2 separate regions of the Homo sapiens genome follow, and region 2 is linked to region 1. Evidence: promoter capture Hi-C in human tissues and cell types (Jung and others, 2019). All regions are on one chromosome and are shown on one strand. Each heading gives the region's core, a stretch centred on a gene start or on the middle of the fragment in contact. The rest is flanking DNA. Distances are from core to core; before and after follow the strand shown.

The links. Contacts are between HindIII fragments. The study calls those that stand out against the background at their distance.
Region 2: a fragment that was not itself captured here is called in contact with the fragment with the promoter of GOT1L1 in region 1 in 1 of the 25 tissues and cell types used here (spleen).

Annotation. Positions count from the first base shown.
Region 1 is chr8:37,937,884-37,943,846 of GRCh38, forward strand. GOT1L1 (glutamic-oxaloacetic transaminase 1 like 1) reads right to left here and starts at 2,241. Exons shown (of 9, transcript NM_152413.3): 1 at 2,032-2,241; 2 at 817-998. The coding sequence starts at 2,146. RefSeq lists an enhancer at 1,747-2,263. The HindIII fragment of the contact is 11,209 bases long and covers 1-5,963 here.
Region 2 is chr8:37,399,172-37,405,134 of GRCh38, forward strand. It overlaps a transcript of LINC01605 not described here. Among named protein-coding and RNA genes, the nearest start is that of LINC01605, 200 kb to the right of the region's middle. The HindIII fragment of the contact is 7,143 bases long and covers 1-5,963 here.

The sequences.
Region 1 (5,963 bases), core at 991-3,490:
TACAAAAATTAGCCGGATGTGGTGTTGGGCATGTGTAATCCCCGCTACTCAAGAGGCTGAGGCAGGAGAATCACTTGAACCCGGAAGGCGGAAGTTGCAGTGAGCGGAGATCAGGCCACTGCACTCCAGTCTGGGTGACAGAGTGAGACTCCGTCTCAAAAAAATAATAAGTAAATAAACATTAAAAAATAAAAAGAAATAGACAGAAATAACACTCTAAAACAGTAATGGAGGCGAGACGCAGTAGCTCATGCCTGTAATCCCAGCACTTTGGGAGGACGAGGCAGGGAATCCCCTGAGGCCAGGAGTTTGAGACCAGCCTGGCCAACATGGTGAAACCCTGTCTCTACAAAAAATACAAAAATTAGCTGGGCGTGATGGCACATGCCTGTGATTCCAGCTACTCAGGAGGATGCAGCACCAGAATTGCTTGAACCTGGGAGGTGGAGGTTGCAGTGAGCTGAGATGGCACCACTGCACTCTAGCCTGGGTGACAGAGTGAGACTCTGTCTCAAAAAATATATATAATAGGTTAAAAAATAAAACAGTAATGGGAATACTAACACCACCTCCAATTCAGATCATTCCTGTCTTGAAAGAGCTTTCAAATCAGCAGTGTGAGCAGGTGGGAATACCACTGGACTGAGATTCCGATCCTGACTCGATGGCTAAGGACTTGTGGACTCTCTGAGCCTCAGGTATCTCTTTTATCAATACCAGGGGGCCCTCCGAGGTCCCCTTCGGGTTTAAGGTTGTGCAGACCCAGATCGCCACTCTCTGTGTCTAAATGAGCCAGGGGAGGGCCCACCTTCTCACCCTGTTCTCCACAATGGCTTGGCTGTGCTTTCCAAAGAGGAGTGCTAGAGAGGCCTGGATGAATGATTTCAGGCCCATGGTGGGCAAGTACTCATAATTCAGGGAGGGATCCTGTGAAATCTGTAGTCGAGTCTTCTGCACCACGAGAGAAACCCAGGGATGGCCTTCATTTGTCATGCAGACTGTGAGGAAAACCACAGAGGGAGCTCCAGATGCCTGGTTTGGGCCCCCAGGGCTGAGCTCTGCAGACAGCCTGCAAACAAATCTCTCCTGGACTCCATGGGGCTGTGGGAAGGTGCCTGTGAAAATACAACTTTCCCTTTTCTTTTCTCCTTGATGAAAAGAATATGCTGTTAGTGAATGTGTATTATTTTTGTCTTTTTAAAAAAGACAACTGAAACCTATGCCATTTTAAAGGTTAAAAATTATACAAGCCCAGGATTGGTGGCTCAGGCCTGTAATCCCAGCACTTCGGGAGGCTAAGGTGGGTGGATCACTTGAGTTCAGGAGTTCAAGATCAGCCTGGGCAACATGATGAAACCCTGTCTCTACAAAAAAATACAAAACAGCCAGACATGGTGACCAGCGCCTGTAGTCCCAGCTACTCAGGAGGCTGAGGCAAGAGGATGGTTTGAGCCCAGGAGGCAAAGGTGGCAGTGAGCTGAGATCTTGCCACTGCACTTCAGCCTGGGCAACAGAGTGAGGCCCTGTCTCAAGAAAAAAAAAAAAAAAATATATATATATATATATATATATATATATATATATATATATGCAAAATGAGAGTTATAGGTAGATGAAGCTAAATAAAGGTAACCCTGACTTTCACAGTGGTGAGCCCCAGTTGCATAGCAGAAAGCTCAATCTGGAGAACCATTCTTGGTTCAAGAACAGGAAGAGAAAGAGAAAGAGAGAGAGAGGAGGTAAGAATCTGAAGAAGTGTGGGATGGCCATGCAGGCCCCCAAGCATAGAGTTGTGGAAGAGGACATAGCTCTCACCAAATCCCTAGAAGCCCCCAGAGAAGGGCAGAGAGCATGGAATGACCTGGGACCTTATCTGCACTTTTCCCCACTGGGTAATTCTGTTAACAAGAAAAGATCTCTCCACCCACAGAAGCTTGGGCTGCACCCCTCCCCCTGCAGCAGGGAACACTGTCCTCCTAGAGGCAGTTACCATCACTTAAGTCTTATACTTCAGAACTGCTAGGCATCTACCTCTATAGGCTAAGAATATCTTGTTCGGGTAATCATCTTGTTTGTAGGTCTTTAACAAGCTGCCCTCTAGCTTGTGGGCGAGGGGCACATCCATGAACACTGAAAGGGTGGGCATAACTGAAACGAAACTGGAGCCAAGACTATGTGTCTCTGCTCCTGTGTTCCGCTTCTGCCCAGAAGTCTTCCTCCAAGGCTGGGCCGGGCAGTCCTGCCTCTTCCTGGAACCTTGGCAGCCCCAGTGCAGAGGCGCTGGACAACGGGTTGCCAGGGCAACAGAACCTCATGATCTTTGTGGTGGCGATCCACAGGGGCCACAGGAACATTCCAGGGTACTTGAGGAGAATCCCCTCAGACAGCGGGCAGGGCAGGATAACAATCTCCGGAATTCCCAAGCCCGTTTCCCTCACTCAATGCCTTCTCTTCTCTAGCCCCAGGTGGCTCAGTCCAAAGTAACAAGCCCACTCCTTAGATGACAGGGCAAGGATAATGGGAGATTACTTAACAGATACAATGTACATTGTTGGGGTTATGGATACCCTAAAAGCCCTGACTTCACCACTATGCGATGTATGCATCTAACAAAATTACACTTGTACTTCACACATTTATACAAATTAAAAAAAAAAAAAAGAAAGAAAGACATAGGGCAAGGCAGGCAGCCAATAAGCCAGATAGGGCTTCTCCTGCAGAAGCAAAAACCCCAGATCACACACCAATGCAAGTCGAGGCATTGATTTCCATTTTGCAAAGTGCCCCAGATTTCAAAAGGAATAAAAAGCAAACACTGTTTTCTTCCACAGTTGTTTTAATAAAGAATCCTATTATTAGAATATAATTGGCAACTCACTAAGCCAGTCCTATTTCTCTCAGTTATCTAGAGCCAAGACTTCTACATATGTTTGTTAAGTTTCTTTTTCTTTCTTTTTTTGGTTTTTTTTTTTTTTGAGATGGAGTCTCACTTTGTCGATAGTCTCGAACTCCTTGCCTCAGGTGATCTGCCTGCCTTGGCCTCCCAAACTGCTGGGATTACAGGCATGAGCCACCACACCTGGCCATTTGTTAAGTTTCAATGACAGCCAACTAGTAAGTATAGACAGCAGAGGCCAAGGGGAGAAAAGAGCCAGCCTCTATAGAGTCAGTCTGCATATTGCTTGCTTTCTTTTCCTTTTGATGTTTAATGACTCTCTCTTTTTTTTTTTTTTTTTTTTTGAGACAGAGTCTCGCTCTTGCTGCCCACATTGGAGTGCAGTGGTGTGATCTCGGCTCACTGCAACCTCTGCTTCCCAGGTTCAAGAGATTCTCCTGCCTCAGCCTCCCGAGTAGCTGGGATTACAGGCATGCGCCACCACACCCAACTAATTTTGTATTTTTAGTAGAGAGGGGGATTTCTCCATGTTGATCAGGCTGGTCTCAAACTCCAGACCTCAGGTGATCTGCCCACCTGGGCCTCCCAAAGTGCTGGGATTACAGGCGTGAGTCACTGCGCCCGGCTTTTTTTTGTATTTTTAGTAGAGACAGGGTTTCACCACGTTGGCCAGACTGGTCTCAAACTCCTGACCTCAAGTGATCTGCCTACCTCAGCCTCCCAAAGTGTTAGGATTACAGGCATGAGCCACCACACCCAGCCTGATGTTAAATAACTCTTTAAATGATTGTTGCAAACACTGTTGATGTCTCACCCAGAAGGCCTTCACCACCAATGTGCCCGGCCCCAGCTGCTGCTTCGCTGGTGGACAAGGCTTATATGCCTGTGTTCTCTGGAGAATTGTGCTTGGCTGGCAGGAGTCAGCTAGCCTAGAAACCACCTGGAGGTTTCACCCCCACTGACAGGGGTAGCCAATGACTGCCTGATTTAGGCATACAAAGGGTCAGCCACAGCCAGGCATGGTGGCTCACACCTGCAATCCTAGTGCTTTGGGAGACTGAGGCGGGAGGATCACTTGAGCCCAGGAGCTCAAGACCAGCCTGAGCAACATAGGGAGACCCCCCCCACCCACTCCACAAAAAATTTTAAAATTAGCTGGGCGTGGTGGTATTGCAGTGAGCTATGATCATGGCACTGCACTCCAGCCTGGTTGACAGAGTGAGATCCTGTCTTTAAAAAAAAAAAAAGGTCGGGCACGGTGGCTCACACCTGTAATCCCAGCACTTTGGAAGGCCAAGACAGGCAGATCACAAGGACAGGAGATTGAGACCATACTGGCTAATGGGGTGAAACCCCGTCTCTACTAAAAATACAAAAAAAAAATTAGCCTGGCTTGGTGGTGGGCGCATGTAGGGAGGAGGCTGAGACAGGAGAATTGCTTGAACACGGGAGGCAGAGGGCACAGTGAGCCGAGATCTCTCCACTGCACTCTAGCCTGGGTGACAGAGCGAGACTGTCTCAAAAAAAAAAAAAAAGGAAAAGAAAAAGAAAAAAGGCCAGCCCCCTTGTCTCGGTTCACCTCTGTGGCTCAATCTACACTTCAGGGCCCATTCCCCAACCAGGCGAAGCCTAGACTTGACCTGAGGCCACATCCTTGCTTGGTTCCTTCCCCTTCACAATCCTGCTTCCTTCACTCCCTTCCAGGTTCTTCCTGAAGGGCACTCCTTCCCTAAGTCACATGCCCAGGAACTCCTGTCTCAGGCTATGCTCCCAGGGAACCTGTTTTGAGGCAAATGATTATGAAAGTAGTCCGTATTATTGTAGAAAACTCAAAAGCATCAAAAAATTATAATGAAGCACACAAATTCCCTACAACCAATCCATAACTTCAGTCCGGGTGCACCTCCATCCAGTTTCTATTCTTTGACATTTATATTTTAAGGTAATTGCTATCAACATTTATGTGTCATTTTCATCATACTTTCTTCACTTAACATTTCAGCTGTGAGGATTTTATTGTGTGCCAGTGAGAACCTTTTATGCTGCAGGTAATTTAAAAAAGACCTAGTCCAAACCAGCTTGAGCAACAGAGAGAAAGTATTGGCACCTAACTGGGAGGGCCAGGGTACATCTGACTCCAGTCGGAGTTCAGTCCAGAGGGACACAGTTATCATCAGGGCCCCAGCTTCATTCTCTGGCATCCCCTTGGCTCTACTGTCCTGGATGCGTCAGGCTGGTTCTCTGGCTGACGCTGGATGTGAGAACAAAAGTGGATGGGGCCGGGCACAGTGGCTCACGCCTGTAATCCCAACACTTTGGGTGGCTGAGGCGGGCAGGTCACCTGAGGTCATGAGTTTGAGACCAGTCTGGCCAATGTGGTGAAACCCCGTCTCTACTAAAAATACAAAAATTAGCTGGGTTTGATGGCCTGTGCCTGTAATCCCAGCTACTCAGGAGACTGAGGCAGGAGAACAGCTTGAACCAGGGAGGCGGAGGTTGCAGTGAGCCGAGATTGAGCCATTGCACTCCAGCCTGGACGACAAGAGTGAAACTCCATCTCAAAAAAAAAAAAAAGTGGATGATGGATGGGATGCAGCACATAAACGAAGTGATACACACTTAAGGAATCTACATGTCAGCTTTGTTTGCAAATAAACCAAATACCAATTACCGAAGGAATGTTTAAATTAATAATGATATCCATGCAATAGAATTCTCTGAAGCCTTTAATTTTTTTTTTAATTTTTTGCAAAGGTGGGATCTTGCTATGTTGCCCAGGCTGGTCTCAAACTCCTGGCCTTAAGTGATCCTCCCACCTCATCCTCCCCATCTGCTAGGATTACAGGCACTTGAGATCCTGTCTCTACCAAAATACAAAAATTAGGCCAGCCACAGTGGCTCACACCTGTAATCCCAGCATGTTGGGAGGCAGAGGTGGGCAGATCACTTGAGGTCAGGAGTTCGAGACCAGCCTGGCCAATATGGTGAAACCCCGTCTCTACTCAGAATGCAAAAAAAGCTGGGTGTGGTGGCAGGTGCCTGTAATCCCAGCTACTAGGGAGGCTGA
Region 2 (5,963 bases), core at 1,215-3,714, 540 kb before region 1:
TACTGCTAGAGACTTCTTTTTCAAATAGAATTTTCTCTTATTTGAATAATTCAAAAAAACTTATTTACACGTTTTCCCTTGGGGCATGTTGGCCTTAAATGATCACACTGATTAGTCAAACTACTAATTAATTTAGAAGAGAGTATAAGTCAAAATGATTGTTTGGCAGATCCATTAAGACTTGAACAATAGCCTCATAATAATAGCTAGTAATATGTAGCTCTTTACAAAACTGCCCCAAGCCAAAACTGAGCTTTGTTAAGCATGGTCCCATAACTTCCCTCTATAATAATGGGGCTGGAAGTCTGAAAACTACATTTCCCAGATCTCTTTGGCAGTTGGCTTCCAGTTAAGTTTTGTCTAACTGGCAGGAAAATCAAGACAAGAGAGGAAGGGAGATGTCTTTGTTTCTCTCTCTCTCTCTCTCTCTCTTTCTCTCTCTGTCTCTCTCTCTTCTCCTGCTTCTCTCCTTTCTTCTTCTGATAGTGTTTCTTCCACCATCTCAGCTTTTTACTTCTTTTGAGACAGGGTCTTGGTCTGTCACTCAGGCTGGAGTGCAGTGGTGTGATCATGGCTCACTGAAGCCTCAACCTCCCCAGGCTCTAGTGATCTTCCCATCTCAGCCTCCCAAGTAGCTGGCACTACAGGCACACATCACCACCATCACGCTTTTGAGGCTGTAATCCACTTTCTGTGCTCTTAGGTTCTGGAAACCCCATCACCATTCTTTTGTTCCTCCAGCCCTAGATAATATCTGATTTACCTTAATTTCCCCTTTTTTGCTCTTTGACTGTCTAAGATCGTTGTAGCCTATTGCCTGTATTAAATATCCTCTGTATGAAATACATAGGTTGGTTTCTTTTTCTGACTAGACTGTGATTGATACAATAAAAACAAAATTTTTTAATGAGGAATTGCTCATCTTACTTGGTTTTTGCCCACTTTGGTCTCCAAAATCTAGACTTTTGAAGTCAATCAGGGTACACTCATCCAAAATATCCCTGTATCACTGTATTGATTGTGTTTTTGTATTTTTTACATTTTGTGATGTTTTGACATCTTAAAAAGCTTTCTGACCAAGGGGAGACTGTTCCTTCCTGGCCAGTCCCTTCTTAGTCTCAGTAAAAGACTCAGCAAGGAGTATGTTTCTTATGTACAAACAAACCAATCCCACATCTCTAGCCTCAACCACCTCCTTCTATAACTCTCACATATCAAGCCAATATTTCCTCTGTCCTAAATCATCCCAGTGCCAGGTACCAGGCAACTAGAGACCACTGCTATAGCTCAAAGCCCACCAGAATTATTCAAACTAGTCAGCCCTAATCTGTCCACTCTGCCCTGCCTTGCGTTTCCCGCAGAAACCCCAGCTCTATCTCAGGCTCTCCCCGCACTCTTGTCTTCTGCCACCTGACCCAAACCTGGTGCTTCTCCTGTGGCCCAGTATGGCATGTGGCGAATTCCTCTCTGGGATCTGTGAGTATAATCAACTTTTTCTTTTCAAGCTTTATTCTCATTCCCTCTTGCGGTCATGCCAACTTTACCACACCATAGCCCACATGAACATTCTTAGAATAATAACAGTGTTTCCTAAGCTCTATTCCTCATATTATTTGTGTCCAGAAGGATTTTAATAGGTGCTCATTAAAAAAAAAGGTTTCATAGTTAGGCCAGGCACAGTGGCTCACGCCTGTAATCCCAACACCTTGGGAGGCCAAGGAGGGTGGATCACTTGAGGTCAGGAGTTCAAGACCAGCCTGGCCAACATGGTGAAACCCCGTCTCTACTAAAAATACAAAAATTAGCTGGTCATGGTGGCAGGTGGCTATAATCCCAGCTACTTTGGAGGCTGAGGCAGGAGAGTCACTTGAACCCAGGAGGCAGATGTTGCAGTGAGCCAAGACCGCACCACTGCACTCCAGCATGGGCGAAAATAGTTAAATGAATTTGGGGCATGCTGGGTTAAAGTTCAACAAGCTTCTTCACTGAAGGACTTCTCAGAGCCTTTAATATACAAATGTGCATTTTGAATCTCCAAGAGTGTTTCCCAATTTTTTTAACCAACTAGTCTTTTATCACACAAAGTACAGTTATATATCTAGAGATGATAGCCTTTCAAGGAACACTATTTGGGAAGTGCTAGTCTACAGTAATATTTCAAAAATTATTTTAGTGTCTGTATGAAGAAGATATTAAGAGGTTAAGAATGGCTAAAGTCATATTTTGTATAAAAATCAAAGAGTACCAAAATATTGATATGCATCTGACTATACAGATTACAGAATTATTATATGTCTTCAGCTGCTCTTCTTTAGGGATGTGGCAATAACCTTTATTCCACCAGCTAAGGGAATGGTTATGGTCCAGGAAAAATGTTCTTCTGCTTTTATTCCTTGCTGTCAGGCTAGAATGTCAAGCCTCTTATTACAAGAACACTGTTACTAAATCTCAGCCTTTGCTTATTCCCTGTGAATATGGCAGTCTTTAAGTAGAAAATAGTTATCATTCTACTTCGTTTTCTTTCTTTTCTCAGGAGATTAAAAAGGGATTAGCTGTAAGAATATAAGCGGAACCTTAAAAGGAAGTTCATGGAAACCCACAAAGTAGAACACTAGCTCAGCAAGGCCTCATAAGAACTGGAATAGAGAACTCAAAGGCATCGTGAACTAAGTGTGTGCCCTCTTCTCCTCCTTCTCTCTGTCTCTGTCTCTATCTTCCTCTGTGCCTCTCTCCCTCCCTCCTCATGCCATATCTACTTCTTTCAGAGGTTGCTGCCTTGTTTTCCCCTCCCCACTGCCTGGGCTCTGTTTAACCTCAGCATGAACATGGATCACAGGGGCTGTCCCTGTCTCAACTGGCACAATTGCCACCTGCGGTCCCCAAGGGCCCCATCTCTCAGTTTTATCACTGCATGATTTCTATGGGCAGTTTCACTTCCTCCTGTGCTCAGCAAAACGCTGACTGTGAGCTGTGTGATAATAAAACTCTCCTTCTCGAACCTGAAGTTTGCATTTTCTCTCTGAGGAAAAGTATTCTGAATACTGGATAATGGGAGGAGGGTTTTAAATCTCTTTTTGCAAAAACAGAATTTTCCTTCCTTCCTAACAAAAGTTGGCTTAAAGTCCAAAATTATAAAGGCTTCTTGTTGACATGATCTGTCCCTGCTTCACCCCTTCCCCAACCTTAGACTCTCTAAGGCTCCCCCTCAGTCTTTCTGGCCCACCTACCACAGCCTTGCTGCATTCTCTTAGATTTGCACATTTACATATTCTGCCCTTTCTACCTGGAACTCACTCTCCCTTTTCACCTGGTTAATTCCGACTCATCCTTGAGATCTCAACTCTGTTGTCACTCCCCTAGGGAAGCTCTGCCTGACCCCCCTAATCATCTCATCATCAAACCCAGTCTGAAATTGGTTGGTGTGGTTATTGTACAAATTCCTTTCTTACTTATTAGTATGTGAGTCCAGAGGCCATGTCTGGTTTTGTCCATTATTGTATCCCCTGCATCAGATAGCAGAGAGCACCTGGTGGGCTTTAATAAAAATTTGATTGAATCCATTCTGTTCCTTAGTAATCATATGGTTCATCTTTAAGCTCTTTAACTAGTCTCATATAAAACAATTTTGGGCTGGGTACAGTGGCTCATGCCTGTAATCCCAGCACTTTGGGAAGCCGAGGCAGAAAGATCACTTGAAACCAGAAGTTTAAGACCAGCATGGGCAGCATAGCAAGATCCTATTTTTACACACACACACACACACACACACACACACACACACACACACATACACAATGTTAATTAGCTGAGCATCATAGCATGTGCCTGTACTCCTAGCTCTTTGGGAAGCTGAGGCGGGAGGATTGTCCAGGAGTTCAAGGCTGCAGTGAGCTATGATCACGCCATTCACTGCACTCCACACTAAGCAACAGAGTGAGACCCTATCAAAAAAAAAAAAAAAAAAAACTGTCCTTGTTTTATAATTTCCTATTCTTCTTTCATGCATATAATGCCCTCTTTTATCTATTTAAAGATATTAAATATAATTGCTTTTCTTTTAAAGGCCTGTGCTGATGGCTCTATTATCTATGTTTCCTTGATTATAAGAACTTGTCTTGTTTATTTCATTTTAATGGGTTTCCTCAGATGTTTGGCAATTTTTCATTGAGTGTTCATGTTCTCTGGCAGAAGATTTTCACATGTGGCCTGTGAGGCAGCTTTCCGCTGTAGTCTCAGGACAGAGTCACTGTTTACTCACTTCACGCTTAAAATTTTGTAACATTTTTCTCTAACACGGTTTACTTCAGTTTGTCTTGACAAAAACTCTAGATGGTAGACAGAGCATGTAATATCATTATCTTTATTTTACAACTAAATAAAATTCTGAGAAATTGTGTCTTCCCCAAAATGATGCGGTTGATATAATATCAGAGCCAAACTCAGACTCAACCATCTGAGTGCCTATCCCAGCATCATCACACCACACCACAGCTGCCCATGCAGTTGATATAATATCAGAGCCAAACTCAGACTCAACCATCTGAGTGCCTATCCCAGCATCATCACACCACACCACAGCTGCCCATGCAGTTGATATAATATCAGAGCCAAACTCAGACTCAACCATCTGAGTGCCTATCCCAGCATCATCACACCACACCACAGCTGCCCATGCAGTTGATATAATATCAGAGCCAAACTCAGACTCAACCATCTGAGTGCCTATCCCAGCATCATCACACCACACCACAGCTGCCCCTCACGTGGGTCTGCTCAGAGGTCAGCATTATCGTCAGCGTTTCCAGTTCCAAGCGACAAAAACCCAGCCCACGCTGTTCACTTGTGTTTAGGAACTTGTGTGTTTCGTTTATTTCATTTTGATGGCTTTCCTCAGATGTTTGGTGATTTTTCATTGAGTGTTCATCTTCTAACAGAAGCAAGCAAGAAAGAAAGGTAAACAACTTAAGGACGGTAGAACTCGGCCTTGACAATGGCTGGACCCAGGGACCTTCAGGCTCTCAGGATTCTCCTTCTCCATCTCCTGACTCTGCTTCTCTGTGTGCTGGCTCCCTTCTCTCCTTCTGCAGGATGTATTCTTTACATGGTGGAGGACAGGACTTCCAGAATCCCTGGATCCACATCCCAACAGCTCTGCCTACCCACCACCTTCATCCCGTTCCCCAGAAGAAAAGAGAGAATTTTTCTCTCCTACCTTCAGTTTCTAAAATCCTCAAGAAGGACTCAGGTTGGGCCAGCTTACCTGCCTGACCCTCCCCGCTGGACCAGCCACTACAGTCACGGAGATAATCATCATTGGCCTGATCTAGGTTATGGGATCCCCTCTGGGGCTGGAGAGCAGGGCCTAAATGTCAGCCCACCAACAAAATTACAAATAACTTCTCAAAAGGAGAGTACTACTGTTCTACCCTTATTACAGGAAGCCATCTAGTAGGGCTTGTGGTGAATGGCTGCCCTGTAAGGTATGCACATACAAGAACATTGGTTAGCAAAAGATATGGAGACATAGTTGTATGTTATGAACACTGGCCATGCTTCAACCTAATGTGGTGAACAGCATCTGGACTTAGGAGTCAGATAGATTCCAGGTTCAAATCCTGAAGCTGTTGTTTAAGAGCTGTGTGACCTTAGACAATATACTTAACAAGAACACTAGAATATTTGTTATTCCCTTGGGCAATATATTTAAGTTGGCAGATAATAAGCACTCAGTGGTTGCAACTATATCTCTCTAACAGCTGTACTAAGTGTATTTCCTTCTCAACTGTCCAGAAAGCAGGGATTCTCAGCCAGGATTTTGTAGAAGCTCCAGGAAAATCTTCACTTACTTCAAAATTTGTCACAAGCATCTCAAAATAATTTTTAATAAAAATCAGTTTTGTTCCTTTCACTTAGAAAGTAATTCTATTCATGAAGTTCTTTAGGAAAAGGAAGGCATGACACCA